4 separate regions of the Homo sapiens genome follow, and all the other regions are linked to region 1. Evidence: promoter capture Hi-C in 16 types of primary human blood cells and fetal thymus (Javierre and others, 2016). All regions are on one chromosome and are shown on one strand. Each heading gives the region's core, a stretch centred on a gene start or on the middle of the fragment in contact. The rest is flanking DNA. Distances are from core to core; before and after follow the strand shown. Region 1 holds the start of EMC4 (ER membrane protein complex subunit 4). Region 2 has its middle 27 kb from the start of GOLGA8B. Region 3 has its middle 8.7 kb from the start of GOLGA8B. Region 4 has its middle 36 kb from the start of MIR1233-2.

Region 1 (4,613 bases), core at 960-3,459:
GGCAATCTTCAGCCTCTCTTACATCATCATCATCTTCAAGAGTCCCAACTTTTTTGTTGGCCAAGGAAGCCTTTTTCAACCTTACCTCCCACAGCATCTCCTTCCCCCTAACTCCAGCCATATCGAATAACTTGGAGTCAAAGAAATACAAATTAAAAAATAATACAGTACCATTTCAAACTATTAAAAAAATTATAGACTGTGAAATGTAAATGGTGCCATTTTTCCTAGTGGACATTTTAATTTTTTTTGTTGTTGTTTGCAGAGGCAAGGTCTCACTATGTTGCCTAGGCTGGTCTTGAACTTCTGAGCTAAAGCAATCCTCCTGCCTCAGCCTCCCAAAGTTCTGGGATGACAGGTGTGAGCCACCACGCCTGGCTCCTGTGGGCATTTAAAATGAAAATTCTTTAAAAATGTGCATACTCTTTGATCCAGCAACTCCAATTTCACTTCTAGGACTATAACTTTAGGAAATAAGAAAAGACATACAGATATGTTCACAGCAACACTGGTTATAAAAGGAAGGAAAACAGGAAACAATTTAAATGTCCAATAATAGGCTATATTATGAAAAAGGTATACCATACAAAACCCAATCACTTTAAAGAATGACATACATTATTTAATGACACGTCATTAAAAACACATCAATGGTGTTATTTGGTAATGATGTGATACATCATTAAAAACACCACATAACCTAGCACTTTGGGAGGCCGAGGCAGGCAGATCACCTGAGGTCGGGAGTTCGAAACCAGCCTGACCAACACGGTGAAATCCCATCTCTACTAAAAATACAAAATTAGCTGGACGTGGTGGCGTGCGCCTGTAATCCCTGGTACTCGGGAGGCTGAGGCAGGAGAATTGCTTGAACCCGGGAGACGGAGGTTGCAGTGAGCCGAGATAGTGCCATTGCACTCCAGCCTGGGCAACAAAAGCAAAACTCCGTCTCGAACAAAAACACAAACAAACCAAACACCAGATATGTGGTGGGCACTAATCTCACAAGCCTTGAAAGTAGGTAGATTATCCAACTTTTACATGAAGAGGCTGAAACAAATTCAACTTGCCCAAGGTCATACAATTATTAAGTGGTGAAACCAGGATTCAAAAGGAGGCCATCTGCTGGGTGCAGTGGCCCATGCCTTTGTAATCTCAACATTTTGGGAGGCCAAGGCAGGAGAATCACTTGAACCCAAGAGTTTGAGAGCAGCCTGAGCAACATAGCGAAACCCTGTCAAAACAAAACAAAACAAAACAAAACAAGACTGGGGCGTGGTGGCGCGCCCTGTGGTCCTAGCTCCTCGGAACGCTCAGGTTGGAAGGAACGCTCAGGTGGGAAGATCGCTTGAGCCGGGGAAGTCGAGGCTGCAGTGAGCCGTGATAGCGCCACTGCACTACAGCCTCGGCAACGGAGTGAAACCCTGTCTCAAAAAACAAACCCAAAACAAACAACAACAAACGCAGGCTAACTGAATACCGAGCCCATGTCCCCTTCCATGCCCACAATGCTGCCTTGCCTTTGTGCAGAATGTGGTTAGAACTGTTTACCTCGCAAGGTTACTGTGCAAGTGAAATGAAATAAACACATGACACAGTGGACATTCAATACTCAGAAACTACTAAGTAACTCGCTCAAGGTCAAGCTAGGATTTAAACCCAGGATTTGAATCTTTTGTTCCAGGGAGCGCGTAGGAGGTTAAGAAGCTTTTCTTGGCTTCCTTTTTTTTTTTTTTGAGACAGAGTTTCGCTCTTGCTGCCCAGGCTGGCGTGCAATCGCTCGGTCTCAGTTCACTGCAACCTCCGGCTCCCGGATCCAAGCGATTCTCCTGCCTCAGCCTCCTAAGTAGCTGGGATTACAGGCGCCCGCCACTAAGCCCGGCTAATATTTTGTATTTTTAGTAGAGACGGGGTTTCACCATGTTAGCCAGGCTGGTCTCGAACTCCTGACTTCAGGTGATCCGCCCACCAATTCTTAACGCTGAGTCAGTATGGGCTTTCCTTCAGCCCCATAAAGTGCACCTCAGAGGTCAGGGAACACATAACAAGGACATTCAAAAGGGGAGCGCGCGGAAGTGGCTTTAGGAAGCACTAAGTCTTGCCTGGTTTTTTTTCCTCCCTGCTTTTCTAAATCCAAACCCGGACTCCTCAACCCACAGCACCACCAATTTCCAGGGCGGAAATGACGTCGTATTCACGCGCCGGAAGTGCATTTGCAGAGTGAGACAAAGCGGAGAACGCTGGTGGGCCTGTTGTGGAGTACGCTTTGGACTGAGAAGCATCGAGGCTATAGGACGCAGCTGTTGCCATGACGGCCCAGGGGGGCCTGGTGGCTAACCGAGGCCGGCGCTTCAAGTGGGCCATTGAGCTAAGCGGGCCTGGAGGAGGCAGCAGGTGAGGCACCTGGGCAAGCTGTACATCACTGTTCATCCCAGAACTGCACCAGAGTAATGAGACCTGAGCCCTCAGGCATAACTCTGAAAAAGATGGGTGGCACACAGACATCACCTGGGGAGGTAGCGGCTTTTCTGCCGTGGAAGTTTCTCTGCTCAAACAATGCTTACATCAGTCCTCCTGATAAGTCAAAGGACTGAGGAACATACGAGGGGGCTTGGTCTAATCTGAGTAGGTGCATCTGAAGATCTTTATTCCTATGATTGGTAGATCAGGAAATGTGGGATAAGAAGTATCGGAGGTTGCAGCTTTAGTTTCTTGGTTTGGTTTTTTAGGGGTCGAAGTGACCGGGGCAGTGGCCAGGGAGACTCGCTCTACCCAGTCGGTTACTTGGACAAGCAAGTGCCTGATACCAGCGTGCAAGAGACAGACCGGATCCTGGTGGAGAAGGTACAGAGGTATAGATGTTACCGTAGCCCATGGGCCAGTCCTGAGTTACACACTCATCCTCTTCTCCTAGGTGGAGTTAACGTAGATAGCTCTTATCCTGAAGATTTGGAAACTAAACTGCTTGAGGCTGGTATTTCGGTATTTTATATATCAGCTACAAAAGTGCTTAATAATTTGAAAAATAGAAGATGTTTGGAACATAAGGTATAAGAAAGTAGGTTGAAAACTATCTTTTGGTGGCAACATCTTCCAGTTGAAGTGATCCTTTTTCTACTCTGGTTCCCTTACACCACATATCCAACTGTCAGGATACTCTGTTGGCTTTACCTACTACTTTTTCCTGTGTTCACCTCTCATCCTAATCCAAGCCACCATCCTTCATCTAGATTTCTGCAGTAGCCCGGCTAATTTTTGTATTTTTAGTACAGACAGGGTATCACCATGTTTGCCAGGCTGGTCTTGAACTCCTGACCTCAGGTGATCCATCCGCCTTGGCCTTCCAAAGTGCTGGGATTGCAGGCATGAGCCACCGCGCTCGGCCCGGGGCTATTTATATTTCTAATTTCTCCTGTCATTTTGTTACATTTTTTCTAGAAACTTATCCATTTCCTAAAATTTCAAATGTATTGATATAAAGTTGTTCATAATATGATCACTTCCATATATGCAAGATCTGTGATGTTCATTTTTTCATTCCTGATATTGAATATTTTGTCTCCTCTCCTTTCTTCATCAGGCTCACCAGTATTGATTTTTTAAAAATTATTTTCATTTATTTTTACAGGTCACTGTACCCATCACCAGTATTGATTTTATTAATCTTTTCAAAAATACTTGGGTTTTTTTCTAGTTTCTTGAAATGGATGCTTAGTTTATTTTTAGACTGCCATTACTTTTTTTCTTTTCTTTTGAGACAGTCTTGCTGTTGTCGCCGAGGCTGGAATGCAATAGCACGACCTTGGCTCACTGCAACCTCTGCCTCCCAGGGTCAAGCAATTCTCCTGCCTCAGCCTCCCGAGTAGCTGGGATTATAGGCACCCACCACCACGTCCAGCTAATTTTTTTGTATTTTTAGTAGAGACGGGGTTTCACCACGTTGGCCAGGCTGGTCTGAAACTCCTGACCTCAGGTGATCCACCAAGCTCGGCCTCCCAAAGTGCTGGGATTACAGGTGTGAGGCACCGCGCCCGGCCACATTGCCATTACTTTTAATGGCAACAACCGCAGTTACTTTTGCAGCAACCTGGTAGTATGTATTTAAGGTTATAAATTTCTCAGAACTCTAGCTGTGTCCCACGAGTTTTAAAATGTGGTACTTTTGCTATCATATAAATCTATTTTCCATTATAATTTCTTCATGTATCATTGTTAATTCCCAAACATAAGAGATTTTCTAGTTACTATAAAATTATTTCTAGTTTAATATCATTGTAGTCAAAGAATATGTTTTGTACAATTTGCATTCTTTGAGATTGACATTTTCTTCATGGCTCAGCGAGTGGTCAGTTTTTGTGAATATCTTGTTTGAAAAGAATGTGAATTCTGCAATTGTTGAGTGCAGTGTTACATGTCAGTTGGGTTAAGTTTGTTAATGTCATTCAAATCTTCTATGTCTTGATTTGCCTGCTAATTCTATTATTTCTGGAACTAAATTAGTTCGATGGTTCTATTAGTTATTGACTGAGGTGTGCTAATCTCCCATTATGTGGATTTATCTATTTCTTCAGTTGTAGATAGGACATTGATAGATACATAAGTACCAGGACAAA
Region 2 (4,613 bases), core at 1,279-3,778, 390 kb after region 1:
TGAAATCAATTTACATCTCATTTTAGAGAGAATGTTTATATTTTAATACAAAAAGAGGAATATATCACTCATAGTTAAGTATTATTTTTGTGAAATTTTCCATTTGATTTTATACACATACAGACATACACATGTCTGTACCTGGTCATATGTATGTATGTGTGTATGTATTGGTTTGTGATATAAATGTTATTTCTTACCATAAATTTCACTATTTAGAAAAAGTTACTCTCCACAATGCTGGCTGTCAGTGTTCCATACACAGGATGGTGTGTTTAAAAGGTGTGCATGTTACCCAGGCTTGGCCAATCAGAATCTTTCCTAAGATTGTTAAATTAAGTTTAATAATTGTTAGATTGTTAAATTAAGTTTTAAATTAATTGTTAAATTAAATTTCCTAAAATTGTTAAATTGTCTCTGGTAGACATTCTAGAAACATATGTAACAGAGACAGACACACACACACAAACACATACACACACACACACAGAGGGAGAGAGATGAGAAAAGATATGAGGTGATAAGGAAGAGAAATGCAGAAAAATAGAGATATGCATAAAGAAACACAGAGATAGAAAAATGCAGATAAATAGTGACAATAAATTAGAAAAATAGAAAGGCACTGCAGTGAAAGAGACACAACAGGGGGACAGAGACAGAAAATGCAGAGAGATATGCAGAAAGAACTATACAGGGGCAAAGATACACGGAGAAAAGGAGACAGATGCCCAGATAGAAATACAACAGAAACAGAAGAGAGATGAAGATCTTATTGAATATCTGGAACTAGTTGCTTCTGTAATCAACTTGACCTTAGGCTTCCTTGTACCATGAACAAAATATATTTGGTTTTCTATCATTTAGAACCAAAAATAGTACTTTTATTGCTGGTTATGCTTTCTTAACAATAAAAATTATTCTCAATTTTAAAAAAAGGTCACTCTTGTGAGGGCCTGTTAGTCTCTGATCAGGATGTTTGCTGCATGTTTTCCCCAGAAAGATGCAGTAGTACTGCTATAGGTATCATCTGTACTCACTCATGGATTTTGCTCCCCCGACGTCTTAGCACATCCTCTACAATTATGACATGGGTTTTTATCCCAGTGCTCACCAGCTTGCTATCATAACACATAATTTGGAAGAATTTCTTGACATCTTTTGCTTAAAGCTAATTTTTTTTTAAACTGATGCATGCTTTCTGCTACCAGTTGCTTTTAGCCATCAAAAGGAGGCTTGGCGAATTTAAAACAGAGAGAGAGAGAGATGAATTATTCTTTTTTATTTGCTCATTTCCCGACAATTCTTGCTAATTTTAATGGGTTTTGATGTGCAAAAATGATCTCCTGAGAACAGTTCAATCATTGCAGAGCACATTAAAATAACAAGGCATTATGCCGTCTTGAGTCCCTAAGAGAGGCAGGTTTGGCAGGGCAAAAGTGCAAGAAAGACCTGCACATTACAGTGAGATTTTACTGGAGATGTGTGCATGTGAACTTCACTCAGGCTCAGGCAGCTGAAGGGAAGGAGATGAAATCTCAGTACCAAACCTGGCAGGCCAGATTGACATGAGGGCCATCTGGTTCCTCTCACGAATGTCAGGTAGCAGAATGAGCAGACAGCGAAAGCTCATTGCTGAGATCTAGTTCATTGTGAACTGATTTAGAGCTGCGGGAAAATTTTGCTTCTCTGAACCACACGGCAGAACATAACCTTCACACATCTCCCTCTGCCTTTAGCAAACTGGGCAGGGGAGTGGGTGCCTTGAAAACAATGACAGGACGGAAAGAGGAAGCGGTGTGGTTGACGTTTTACTTTTAAACACATTTTTAAAGAGTATAGCTTTACAAACCCCTCCACTGCCAACCCTCAAGTTCCACCTTCCACTCCTCTGTAAAACTGAGCTGGAAATAATTAAATCTAAAGCTAAAAATGAGAGGTGGGGAGACATGTTGTGTGTAAAAATATGGCTAAAGAAGCTTCGCTATTTCTTTGAATCCCTTGATACTTCTTTTATGCATATACTTACGAGTTGTTGGAGAGGAAAATATAATATAATATTTTATCTTCTAAATTAAAGAGTGTATTTTGCTGCCATTAAGATACCATGGGCTTTGCTTTATTGGATCATTAATTTGACTTTGAATGGTCAAAGGCTTATTCAGTAAGCATGTATCTTGCAACACACAAGAGGTATATATTAATGAAAGACTAAAACACACCCAGGAGTCTCTTACTGCCTTATTAAAACATTTATAAATGGGACTTTAAAGTGCTGCTAAAATGAAAATGAAATGTATTGATTCTCATGCCAGATGCTCTTTAGAAAATGCAGTGTGTGTTATTCCCACCTCAAATTATAACTTCAAATCTGACCTAGATATACTTAAAGATAATTCTCTGAAGACAAGATGTAGCAGATAAGGCAATTAAACCAAGTCATTCAGATTTCTAGGATGGCCTTTGTACACTAGGTGGCAGAGGCTTCTAAGAATATCTCTCTTATATAAAGTACCAGAGGTTTGTTTAGCTTTGCAAGCTCAAGCAAAACATTCATGAAAATGTTCTTCTTCAGCAGTGGACTAAGATTCTCCTTTTTACAAATAAGTGGAAAAATTTAAACAGCATGTTTTGTTCTGTGTGAACCTTCAACAATGCAATACTTTTTTTTTTTAAATTTTTTGGAGACCAAGTCTTGTCTCTGTCACCCAGACTGGAGTGCAGTGGTGTGATCTCAGCTCACTGCAACCTCCACCTCCTGGATTCAAGCAATTCTTGTGCCTCAGCTTCCCGAGTGGCTGGGACTACAGGCGCCCGCCACCACGCCCGGCTAATTTTTTGTGTTTTAGTAGAGACTGGGTTTCACCATGTTGCCCAGGCTGGTCTCGAACTCCTGAGCTCAGACAATCCACCCGCTTCGGCCTCCCAAAGTGGTAGGATTACAGTCATGAGCCACCACACCTGGCCAAATGCAGTATATTTTTTGTTTAGTGAATTTATTTTTTCATAGAATAGCAGAATAGGGTTTTGATAGTGTTAATTTTTAATTTAATTCAACTTTACTTTGGTTTAATTCATTTTTAAAAGCTTTTTTACTTTAACACAATAAAAAAATTCTTAAATGGCATGATTCAAATGAATGCATGGCGGGGGGGTGATGCCTCACATTCTTACAACACCTCTTTATTTTCGAAAGACCTTTCACATGCATTTTTAAATTTGATCCTTAAAATAACACTGTACTGTATTAGCACAATTTTACAGGACAGGAAATAAATTTCAGACAAGGTGAGTAACTTCTCCAACATTAAGTAATAAAGTGCTACTGTGTTTTTCCTTTCTGTTGGAGCACAAGAACATTCAATAGAATTTTCACTGAAGACGAGCTGTAAGTATATTAGTGGGAGTGGGAAGTGGAAGTGTCATCTATTTTTTAAAAGGTGGCAGATCTACAATATTTAGCAAGAAACAGGGAGAAGGAAAAGCCAAAACAAATGAACTGATTTATTTAAAAACATTATCAGCATTACCCTGAAAATTATCAAAATCTTATATGCTATATCAATATATTTTTGGAACCATTTTATGGAAGTATCCTTAATAGAGTTTTAATGCATTTAATGCATGCTGTTTTTTTCAGGTGTCCAAAGAGAAGTGCGCCTTTTGCAATAGATCGATATTTCTCTAAGCCTGTTTCCCACACCAACTAATATCAGATTCACTACAGTTTCTTAAGAATAGACTTCTAGCTCCTACTCCCAACCAAATTAATCACAGTTTTTGGGAACTAACCCAGGTATCTTCATTTTCAACCAGCATCTAAGACTTGGCTAGTAAGTTGTGAGAATCAACAGATTTTACTTTTTTTGATATGATATAGATGCAGGCAGAAATATCTAAATAGGTTTATAATCACGCCAAATCTTTTTTTTTCAATTATCATAAATTACCACAAAAATTTTGTTCCATGTGAAAAGATTACCTAATGAATGAATAAGTAACTTGGAACTTTAAATAAAGAAAATGGACAGACACTCATTCACACACGTACATAGAGGAGGCACATTGCAGTAAAAGAATTTCTTTTCTAGATTAATGGTTGTAAATGACCCCAATCAAATATTAGTTAATAAGGCAACAACGTCCTTTGAAAAATAATTTGAGAAATAACAACAATTTTGTTTCTGCTACTAATTTTTACCTCTGGTTGCTAAATGATCTAACAACTACCCATTGTTCTCTCTGTGTTTTTTTTTTCTAGTGTAAATTTGGTAGACTTAATTACAGGTGATAATAGTAGCATTTTTGAGGAATGACAATCTGTTGTGCATTTTCATGCATAATTATAAAAGCACTCTTGACAAATGAATTGATCACCTACACAAAATAGGCATGGGTGTAAATGCAGGTCAGTCAAATGGAAGATCAATCATGTTAAGCAATATTTTCCAACAGTTCTTTTGAGAGCTATTCGGAGAAACAACAAGGAAAATAAGTTTTAAATAATCTTGGAGATGCTATATTTTAAAACATACTAAGAACATTTTTTTGTTTGTTTTTAACTGCAAGATTTCTTAAAGCAATGAACAGACCAATGTGCAGTGAATTTCTTGGAG
Region 3 (4,613 bases), core at 657-3,156, 370 kb after region 1:
GTTGTGCACATGTACCCTAGAACTTAAAGTATATATAAAAAATAGTTTAGTGTTCATCTATTCAAAATATAGTATAATTTTATTTGAGATTGTCTTTTTTAAGTTTGAAGATTAAAAAAATTGGTATCAAAAGAATTATTTGAAAAATATTCTTCATCTGAGTAAAAAGTCCTGTGTCTCTGGGTAGATATTAATTTTATTCCAGTCGATTTAACAAGTTGTAAACTGGGGAGTGGGAGGAATAAAGCAGGAAAAAGTCATCCCACTTAAAATTACCTATTTGATTAGGATGTCAGAGAGTAGCTGATTCACTATGCTATGGTTATAGCCATATATGATTTTTAGTTTAATTTTTGAATTCAAAGGTTGGCAATAACCAGATCAGAAAATGTATCGTATGTTGCCGAACATTCGGAAGTTGCTTTCACCTCACACTGCTCTACCGAAACTTCTTTGTTTAATGTCACCAGTGACCTCTGCATTGCTAAGCCCAGTGGTGGTTACTTGAGTATCTTTTTATTTGGCCTAGCAGCAGCATTTGACACTTTTTATTTCTCCCTGTTGTTTGGTACATTTCTTCTCGTGGCTGCACGGATTCCACATTCTCTTGGTTGTGATTCTTTCTCACTGGTCATCTTTCCTAACCTCCATTGTTAATTTCTCCCCTTCTCTCCGCCATCTTTAATATTGGTACACCTGAGAGCCCAGGCTCTGGTTCCGTTCTCTTCTCTTAGAAACCCTTTGAAGCAGGCTTTCTAAACCATGGCTCTGCTGACATTTTGGGTCAGACAATTCTTTATATGTGGGGCTATCCTGTGCATTGTAGGATGTTCAGCAGCATCCCTGGTCTCTAATAGCCTCTACCTATTAGATGCCACTAGTAATTCATTCCCCAACTGTGACAACCAAAAATGTCTTCAGACATTGCCAGCTGTACCCTGGGGAGAAATAATTGCCTTCAGCTGAAAACCACTGACGTACTCTTTGCAATCTTGAGGATATCATTCAGACTTATGCCTTTAAATACATCAATATGATATTGATTAACATATTTATTTTATGAACCCAGTCTTTCACAAATTTCAGGCTTGTATATCCAACTGCTTACTTGGCATATTCAGCTCAATGTCTATAAATATCTGAAACTTCAGATGTTCAAAACAAAACTGATCTTCTCTCCTAAACCCTTGATCTCAGTCATTAACACATTTTTATGCTAATTCCAGCTTTCTGTTCCCCAGACTCAAAATCTTGTCTTCAATCTTGACTTTTCACCTTATCCACATTCCACATTAATCTGCATTCAGCCCATCTGCACAGATCTTCTAAATACATTCAAAATGCAGCCATCTTTCACCCGGGTGTGGTACACTATCATCTCCCTCTGGGATTTCTGAATCTTTTGCTGAGATTCCATCGTTAATTCCAACCGCTCTCCCTACTTCCACCCTTGCTTCTCTGCTCCTCCCCCTGCCCTGCATAATCTGTTCCTAACAAAGCGGAAATCTGTTTCAGGTCCATCACCCTCTGCTACAATGATTCAAAGTCATTTTCTTCCTGCCTGCCTGCCTGCCTGCCTGCCTGCCTTCCTTTCTTCCTTTCCTGACCGGAAATCTGTGTCAGGTCCATCACCCTCTACTACAATAATTCAAAGTCAGTTCCTTCCTTCCTTCCTTCTTTTCTTTCTTTTCTTTCTTTTTTCTTGACAGAGTCTCGCTTTGTCATCCAGGCTGGAGTGCAGTGGTATGATCTCGGCCCACCACAACCTCTGCCTCCTGGGTTCAAGCGATTCTTCTGCCTCAGCCTCCTGAGTAGCTGGGATTACAGGCGCCCGCCACCATGCCTGGCTAGTTTTTGTATTTTTAGTAGAGACAGGGTTTCACCATGTTGGTCAGGCTGGTCTCGAACTCCTGACCTTGTGATGCACCTGCCTTGGCCTCCCAGAGTGCTGGGATTACAGGCATGAACCACCCCAATCCTGGCCCCAAAGTTTTTGTATTTCTCAGAATGAACTTGAAAGCCTTAGGATGGCCTAATAAGTCCTGCAGTACTTAGTTCCCAGTGACCTCTCTGAGCTTCCCTCCTGCTCTCCCTTCCTTACTCGCTTTGCTTTTTTGCTACCTGTACATCTTTTTGAGAGTGCCTATTTGATTTTTTAATGAGGTTTTTATTGATTATTGAAAGGTTTTTATATACATTAAATATGTGTTTAAAAAACCATTTCTCTAGGTTTGTGGCTTGTCTTTTCACTTTGTGTATGTGTTGTGTTTTTCATATCGTGATTAAGAATTTTTACCATACCAATGATCATAAATATTTCTCCTATACCTTTTTTTTTTTAAATCTTTTTTTTGAGACCGAGTTTCGCTCTTGTTGCCCAGGCTGAAGTGCAGTGGCGCGATCTCGGCTCACCGCAATCTCTGCCTCCCGGGTTCAAGCGATTCTTCTGCCTCAGCCTTCCTGAGTAGCTGGGATTACAGGCATGTGCCACCACGCCCAGCTAATTTTATATTTTTAGTAGAGACAGAGTTTCTCCATGTTGGTTATTTCTCCTATATCTTATTCTGGAAATTTTTCTTCTTTAAACTATAATATTTATGTCAAAAATCCCTTTCAAATTATGTGTTATATACAATGCGAATTAAGGATTGAAGTTCATTTGCTTTTACATTTGATTATTTCATTGCTTGGGGGAGAATTGATCTCTTAATAATGTTGGGTCTTTTGTTTTATTTTTTCTTTTTTTTGAGACGGAGTCTCGCTCTGTCACCCAGGCTGGAGTGCAGTGGCGCGATCTCGGCTCACTGCAAACTCTGCCTCCCGGGTTCGCGCCATTCTCCTGCCTCAGCCTCCCGAGTAGCTGGGACTACAGGCACCCGCCGCCACGCCCGGCTAATTTTTCGTATTTTTAGTAGAGACAGGGTTTTGCCGTGTTAGGCAGGATGGTCTCGATCTCCTGACCTCGCGATCTGCCCACCTCGGCCTCCCAAAGTGCTGGGATTACAGGCGTGAGCCACCGTGCCCGGCCAATATTGGGTCTTTCAATCTATAAATGCTTCTCCATTTACTAGGGTTTTCATCATTCTTTCTTAGCAATGTTTTGAAGTTTTCAGTCCTCAGGTCTGGCACATCTTTTGTTACATTTATCCATAAGTGTTTCTCTTTTTTTTTTTTTGAGGCTATTGCAAATGGTACAATTACTTTTATTTCAATTTCCAATGTTCATTAGTAGTGTATAGAAATATGACTAATGTGTTTATGTTGATCCTACAAAATTGCTAAAGTTTCTAATTAGTTTTAATGTCTCCTTTTTAGATTCTATAGGATTTTCTATGTAGACAATCATATTGTCTGTAAATACAGTTTTGCATTTGCTGTCTACTCTGAATAGCATTTATTAATTTTTCTTGTTATTTTGAACTATTTAGAACATCAACTAAATGTTGAATAGAAGTGTTTAGAGTTGACATTTTTGTCTGACTTTTGATTTTAAGGGGAAATCATTTAGTTTTTAATCTCTAGCTGCAATGTCATATATGTGGTCTCATATGAGCCTTTTATGAGATTCTTAGTCTGCTTAGAGTTTTTATTATGAATAGATTTGGGATTTTTTCAAATGCTTTCTCTGTATCTGAGGTGATCATATGTTTTTAAAATTTGTTAATATGATGAATTACATTGATTGGTTTATGAATGAACCAACTTTGCATTCCTAGGATAAATGCCACTTGATTTTGATGTCAACATTTAAATAATATACTCAGCGCTAAAGAAAGTAGGGGGAGAAATAAGTTCTCCAACACTGCTGATTGGGATGTAAAGAGGCAAGACATTTTTGTAAGACAGTTTTGCCTATGTATCAAATGGCTTACACATATTGGCATCATCTCATCCAGCAATTCTGTTTCAAGAAATTGTAAGGGGAAAAATCAACTGTGAATAAATATTTATAAACATGTATATTTATGTAGAATTTTGGAAAACAGAGATGTAATTTTTCAATAACAGAAGAGGGCTTAAATAAGTGACAGAGAAATGTTATTAACATTCTATCATTTTGTAATGATAAATTAAATGTAAATTAAATGACAGTACTTACATTTAAAATCACATGTATAATATGATCCTCTTTATATAATAAGCATGCATATATTTATGCATAAAAGGAACACTGAAGAATTTACCAGCTAATTTTAACCATTTTTATCTCCTGAGGGTGAGAGCTTTTTTTTAAAGCTATAATTTCTAATCTGTATTTGTACGTTTCAATTCTTTCCAATAAAAATGCATGCCTTAGACTACTTGGCCTGCTATAACAAAGTATCATTGACTGGGTGACTTAAAACAACAAATGTTTATTTCTCACAGTTTTGGAAGCAGGGCAGTCCAAGAACAGGGTGCTGACATGTTTAGTCTGTAGTGAGGGCCTTCTTCCTGGTTTGCAGAAGGCTGCCTTCTTGCCGTATCCTAACATGGGCACGACAGATTGATGTCTAATTTCTTCCTCTTTTTATAAGGACATTAATCCCATCACGAGGGACACACTCTCATGACCTAATCTAACCCTAATTACTTCCCTAAGTCCTCCTTTAAGTCCATCAGTTTGGGGATTA
Region 4 (4,613 bases), core at 1,853-4,352, 270 kb after region 1:
GTAATGGCTGTGGTACCCACCGTGGGGCCCTCCATATTCTGCGGGGTGATCTCCCAGGAGAGGGGGCTGCCTCTGGCGTTTGTTGGGGTTGCTGCCAGGGTCACCTTGTCCACTGAGATTGGGGTTTGTGTAGTCCCAAGTATCCTGATCATTCTTGAACACATTCAAGCGTGTAGGCTTTGCGTATTCCATCTTCAGAGTGCAACAGCCAGAATAGATACCAGCCCCATTGAGAGAGGCCTTGGCCCGCTGGGCACTTTGAACAGAGTCAAATTCCACCATCGCCTGAACTCCATTCTTCCTGAAAATGATAATTCTCTGGACAGGGCCACAAGGATTACAGATAGTGTAAAGAACATCCGTGGTGATCGAATAAATGGGGTTCAGGATGGTAAAGAGAAGCACACTGTTCACGCTCCGGGAGTCATCCGAGTCCCCGGGGAGGGAGATCTTCTGGCTGGTAGAGTAGTTGACAAAAGCTGGGTGACCGGCAATGTATATTTGGTTGTCGGCTGCGTAGCTCACGGCGTTGCAAGCCCCCAACACATCTTCAAACTCCACCAGTGCTTGTCTCTTTTTAGGCATTACCACCGCATAGCTGATGGGTCCAAACTCCTGCAAGGCCTCCACAAGGTCAGCTTCCACCACATCGTCAATCAGGCCCCTGCTGTGGACAACTGGGGAGGCAGGGGTTTTGTGCAGGTCATGGTAGTTCTCCCCGCCGCCGCCCCCGCCGCCCCGCCTCCTCCACCGCCACCGCCGCCGCCGCCGCCTCCGTGCTGGTCGCCGGCGTTGCCAGTCTTGAGCCGCTTAGGGGCACCGCCGCCCTCACTGCCGCCGCCTTAGTAGCCGCCACCGCCGCCTCTGCCGCCCCCCGCCGCCATCTTCATCGCTCCCGACCGCCTCTGCTGCTCCTCCCGCTGCTGCCTCTGCTCCAGCCGCCGACGCCGCTTCTCCCAGGAAATTACTTTTCCAAGTTAGTTTGGTAAAGTTTAAAAGGTTGGTGCTTTATCCTGTAGACAATTGAGAGTAGTTTCTGTATTTAAGAAGGATAAATAAAATGTTCTGTGTGCAGGGCGGATTAGAAATGGAAGACATTGGAAGCAGAGAGAAGTTAAGGAAGAATGTTGACATTATCTTAAAGTGTTAAGAACCTGAACGAAACTCCTTGCAAAATCATTGCCAGGGAATACAGTGTAGGGCCATTGACTGACTCTAGTAGTGGATGAGGACAACTCACAGAGAGAAATCTGACAATCCATGTTTAGCAGAGGGAAGGAAGCCAGAAATAGTTACTAATAAGTGCAAGACTTCAGTTTTGTTGGTTTTTTGTTTTTTACTCCCAGCAAGCTAAATTTGACAATAATGTAGCTCAATTTCTCCCCATCTCATTTTGTTAATCTCTATAATCTTGCCCCAGAAAAGCCATTTGTACCCCAGCTCAGAAAATTCTGTATTCATTTGTCTTCATAAGATTGTAAAAATTTCAAAACTGTCTGTTCATGATAATTAGAGAAATACAAATCAAGACTACAATGAGATACCATCTTACACCAACCAGAATGGCTATTACTAAAAAGTCAAAAAATAACAGATGCTGGTGAAGTTGTGAAGAAAAAGGAATGCTTATACACTGTTAGTGGGAGTGTAAGTTAGTTCATCCATTGTGGAAGACAGTGTGGCAATTCCTCAAAAGCCTAAAGACAGAAATAGCATTGGACCCTGCAATCCCATTACTGGGTATATACTTAAAGGAATATAAATCATTCTGTTATAAAGACACATGCATGCATATGTACACTGCAGCACAATTCACAATAGCAAAGACATGGAACCAACCAAAATGGCAATCAGTGACACACTGGATCAAGAAAATGTGGTACATATATGCCATGGAATACTATGCAGCCATAAAAAAGAACAGAGACCATGTCTTTTGCAGGGACATGGATGGAGCTGGAGGCTATTATCCTTAGCAAACTAATATAGGAAGAGAAAAACACCACATGTTCTCACTTGTAAGTGGGAGCTAAATGATGAGAACTCACATGGACACACAGAGGGGAACGACACACACTGGGGACTTTCAGAGAGAGGAGGCAGAGAGATGGGAGATCATCAGGGAAAATAACTAATGGGTGCTAGGCTCAATACGTGGATGATGAAATAATCTGTACCACAAACCCCCATGACAAAAGTTTACCTATGTAACAAACCTGCACTTGTACCCCCGAACCTAAAATAAAAGTTTAAAAAGGAAGTGAAAAAAACTTTAAAGTAGCTCAATAAGTTTTATATTAATGTCAACTTTAAATAATTTTTATGCATAATACGTTATTAAAATTCATTTACCTTTTTAAAAAAAGAATGTGAAATTTTAGCAGAGTTTTCAACAACAATGTTGTAGTTAACAAGAGAAAAGCATCCCTGATGCTTTACAAACTGGTGTTTCAATGAATTAGTCTTTTTTTTCTGAGAGGGAATCTCGCTCTGTCGCCCAGGCTGGAGTGCAGTGGCATGATCTCGGCTCACTGCAACCTCCACCTCCCAGGTTCAAGTGATTCTCCTGCCTCAGCCTTCCAGTACCAGAAGGCGTGCACCATGACGCCTGGCTACATTTTGTATTTTTAGTAGAGACGGGGTTTCACCAGGTTGGCCAGGCTGGTCTCTAACTCCTGAGCTCCCAAACTGCTGGTAGTACAGGCATGAGCCACCGGACCTGGCCAAAATGAATTACTCTTAATTGTGTTCTATTCATTTGTTTTTCCTGCATTTTCATTTCATTTCACTTTGATGAACCAACCGAAATACCCGATGGAATACAGTGACAGCTTGAAAAGCTTCATGTTAACAAAGTTATCATTCCACAGTAGATAAAATAATATGTGAAAGTAGTGAGAACTTAGGAATTCCTCTAAAATCAGAATTTAAAGACATACCACTTACCCTTTGTTAAAATAGCTTACAGCACAGAAGTCTTAGAAAATGGGCATTAGAGTGTCAGAAAGCTAGTCATGTTAGAAAAAACCTTTCAAATCAAGGCTAGCCACCTCATTAAATAATAAAATGAAGAAACTAGTTATAAAACCGGTGTTCCATTTTCAATTTTAAAAAAATGCTGATGGTAAAATAACCATTAATTTAAAATATTTTTCTGCTCACTTCTAGAAGGTGGAGCATAAACCACTTAAGTGACCTATTTTAGCCCCACTAAAGCAAATGGCAAATATTGGGATTGGATTACCAAATGTATGCCTTCCATTTCATTGGCCATATATCTTATTGTTTCATGCATGGATAATGGCTTTTCTCCTTCTTCAGTAACCCAAAGGAAAAGCTGACATTCTAACCTGGAGCTGCACATTCAAGCTTTGACACATGCCTCTCACTGGTTTCGTCTAATGCTTATAATAAACCTGTAGAGTCAGCAACTTTAGAAAGATGGGTTGAAGAAGTGTCTTTATCATAGTTTGAATTTTTCTCTGGGGCACTTGGCAGAGTCACCTCTGGTGTTTCAAATGTGCTTGAAAGTTATCTGGCTGCCCTCTGAGAAGTCTGCATAAAAACTGCTTTACTTAAAAGCAGGCAAAATTAAGGTTTCTGTAACAAAACCATAGGCATCGCATTGAGATAGGACAAAGACCAAATATCCTGCTTCCATGTGGCAGAGAAATAATGAATAACTTGGTTCAAGAGCTCATGGAGTGGCATATCATCACACCATTATTAATAGAGAACATTGCTAATTTCTAAAAGGGCTTCATGTCATGATTATTTTATCCTCTTCTTTCTGTTAAATTTTTAACATGTATGTCCACTGCAAAGTACGCAAAGGAAATAAATTAGCACTAAAAAAAGGGCTTCTTCACAACCGCAAATTATATATATATTTCTTTCAGAACATCACTTTAGAGAGAAAATAGCAAAAATTCAGCATCATCACTTTTTGACAGTTCACTAGCCAATCAAAATATAGAAAAAGAAGGAGAAATTAAGTACATTTGTATTCACTGTACATTTTTAGCTATTTGTGTAGAAGAAAAACAATTAGCTTATTTAAAAACCCTAAGGTGAGTATGCAGTTTTTAATTATTATCTTTGCTGTTGTGATTTATATTTGTATTTTATTTATGTAAAAACCAGTAAATAAACCTATGTCAAATACTTCTTTATTTTTGATACTAGTTCAAAATATTGGTGACTTTTTTAGATATGAATATCTCATATGTATCTTTTAGAAATTATCAGAGAGTTATAAAATAATATTGGGGAGGTAAGGAAGGCACTAGACATAAGAAACTTGTATAGACAAATACTTTGTCACCAAAGTTGTATATTTAAAAGTCCCTATTCTTTGTCTCTTATCGATTCAAAATTAATTCATTAGAAAAGAATTTTCCTCAACATTTAATCCCTAGTTGTTCATCTTTTTCACTAGTTTGTATTCCATTACTCATTGCTTCATAGCTAAACTCTGTTTAAATCTGTTAACTGAAATGATTTTAAAACGTTTTGGTGGAGCGCTGCGGGAGGTGCGTGCGCGCCCCGGCCGCCGAACAAAGGAGCAGGGGCGCCGCCGCGGGGACCCGCCACCCACCTCCCGGGGCCGCGCC

The links. The method cuts DNA at HindIII sites, captures the fragments that hold promoters and counts their contacts. A CHiCAGO score of 5 or more calls a contact.
Region 2: a contact is called between a fragment that was not itself captured here and the fragment with the promoter of EMC4 in region 1, in 1 of 17 cell types (total CD8 T cells). The highest score is 5.6, in total CD8 T cells.
Region 3: a fragment that was not itself captured here is called in contact with the fragment with the promoter of EMC4 in region 1 in 7 of 17 cell types (non-activated CD4 T cells, naive CD8 T cells, fetal thymus and 4 more); the score reaches 10.2 in non-activated CD4 T cells.
Region 4: a contact is called between a fragment that was not itself captured here and the fragment with the promoter of EMC4 in region 1, in 1 of 17 cell types (total CD4 T cells). The highest score is 5.0, in total CD4 T cells.

Annotation. Positions count from the first base shown.
Region 1 is chr15:34,222,807-34,227,419 of GRCh38, forward strand. EMC4 (ER membrane protein complex subunit 4) reads left to right here and starts at 2,210. Exons shown (of 5, transcript NM_016454.4): 1 at 2,210-2,394; 2 at 2,730-2,844. The coding sequence starts at 2,309. RefSeq lists an enhancer at 2,524-2,573. The HindIII fragment of the contact is 12,421 bases long and covers 1,706-4,613 here.
Region 2 is chr15:34,608,170-34,612,782 of GRCh38, forward strand. No RefSeq gene overlaps it. Among named protein-coding and RNA genes, the nearest start is that of GOLGA8B, 27 kb to the left of the region's middle. The HindIII fragment of the contact is 1,108 bases long and covers 1,975-3,082 here.
Region 3 is chr15:34,590,076-34,594,688 of GRCh38, forward strand. No RefSeq gene overlaps it. Among named protein-coding and RNA genes, the nearest start is that of GOLGA8B, 8.7 kb to the left of the region's middle. The HindIII fragment of the contact is 8,309 bases long and covers 1-4,613 here.
Region 4 is chr15:34,489,784-34,494,396 of GRCh38, forward strand. It overlaps the pseudogene HNRNPLP2 and the pseudogene FSCN1P1. Among named protein-coding and RNA genes, the nearest start is that of MIR1233-2, 36 kb to the right of the region's middle. RefSeq lists an enhancer at 703-1,204. The HindIII fragment of the contact is 529 bases long and covers 2,839-3,367 here.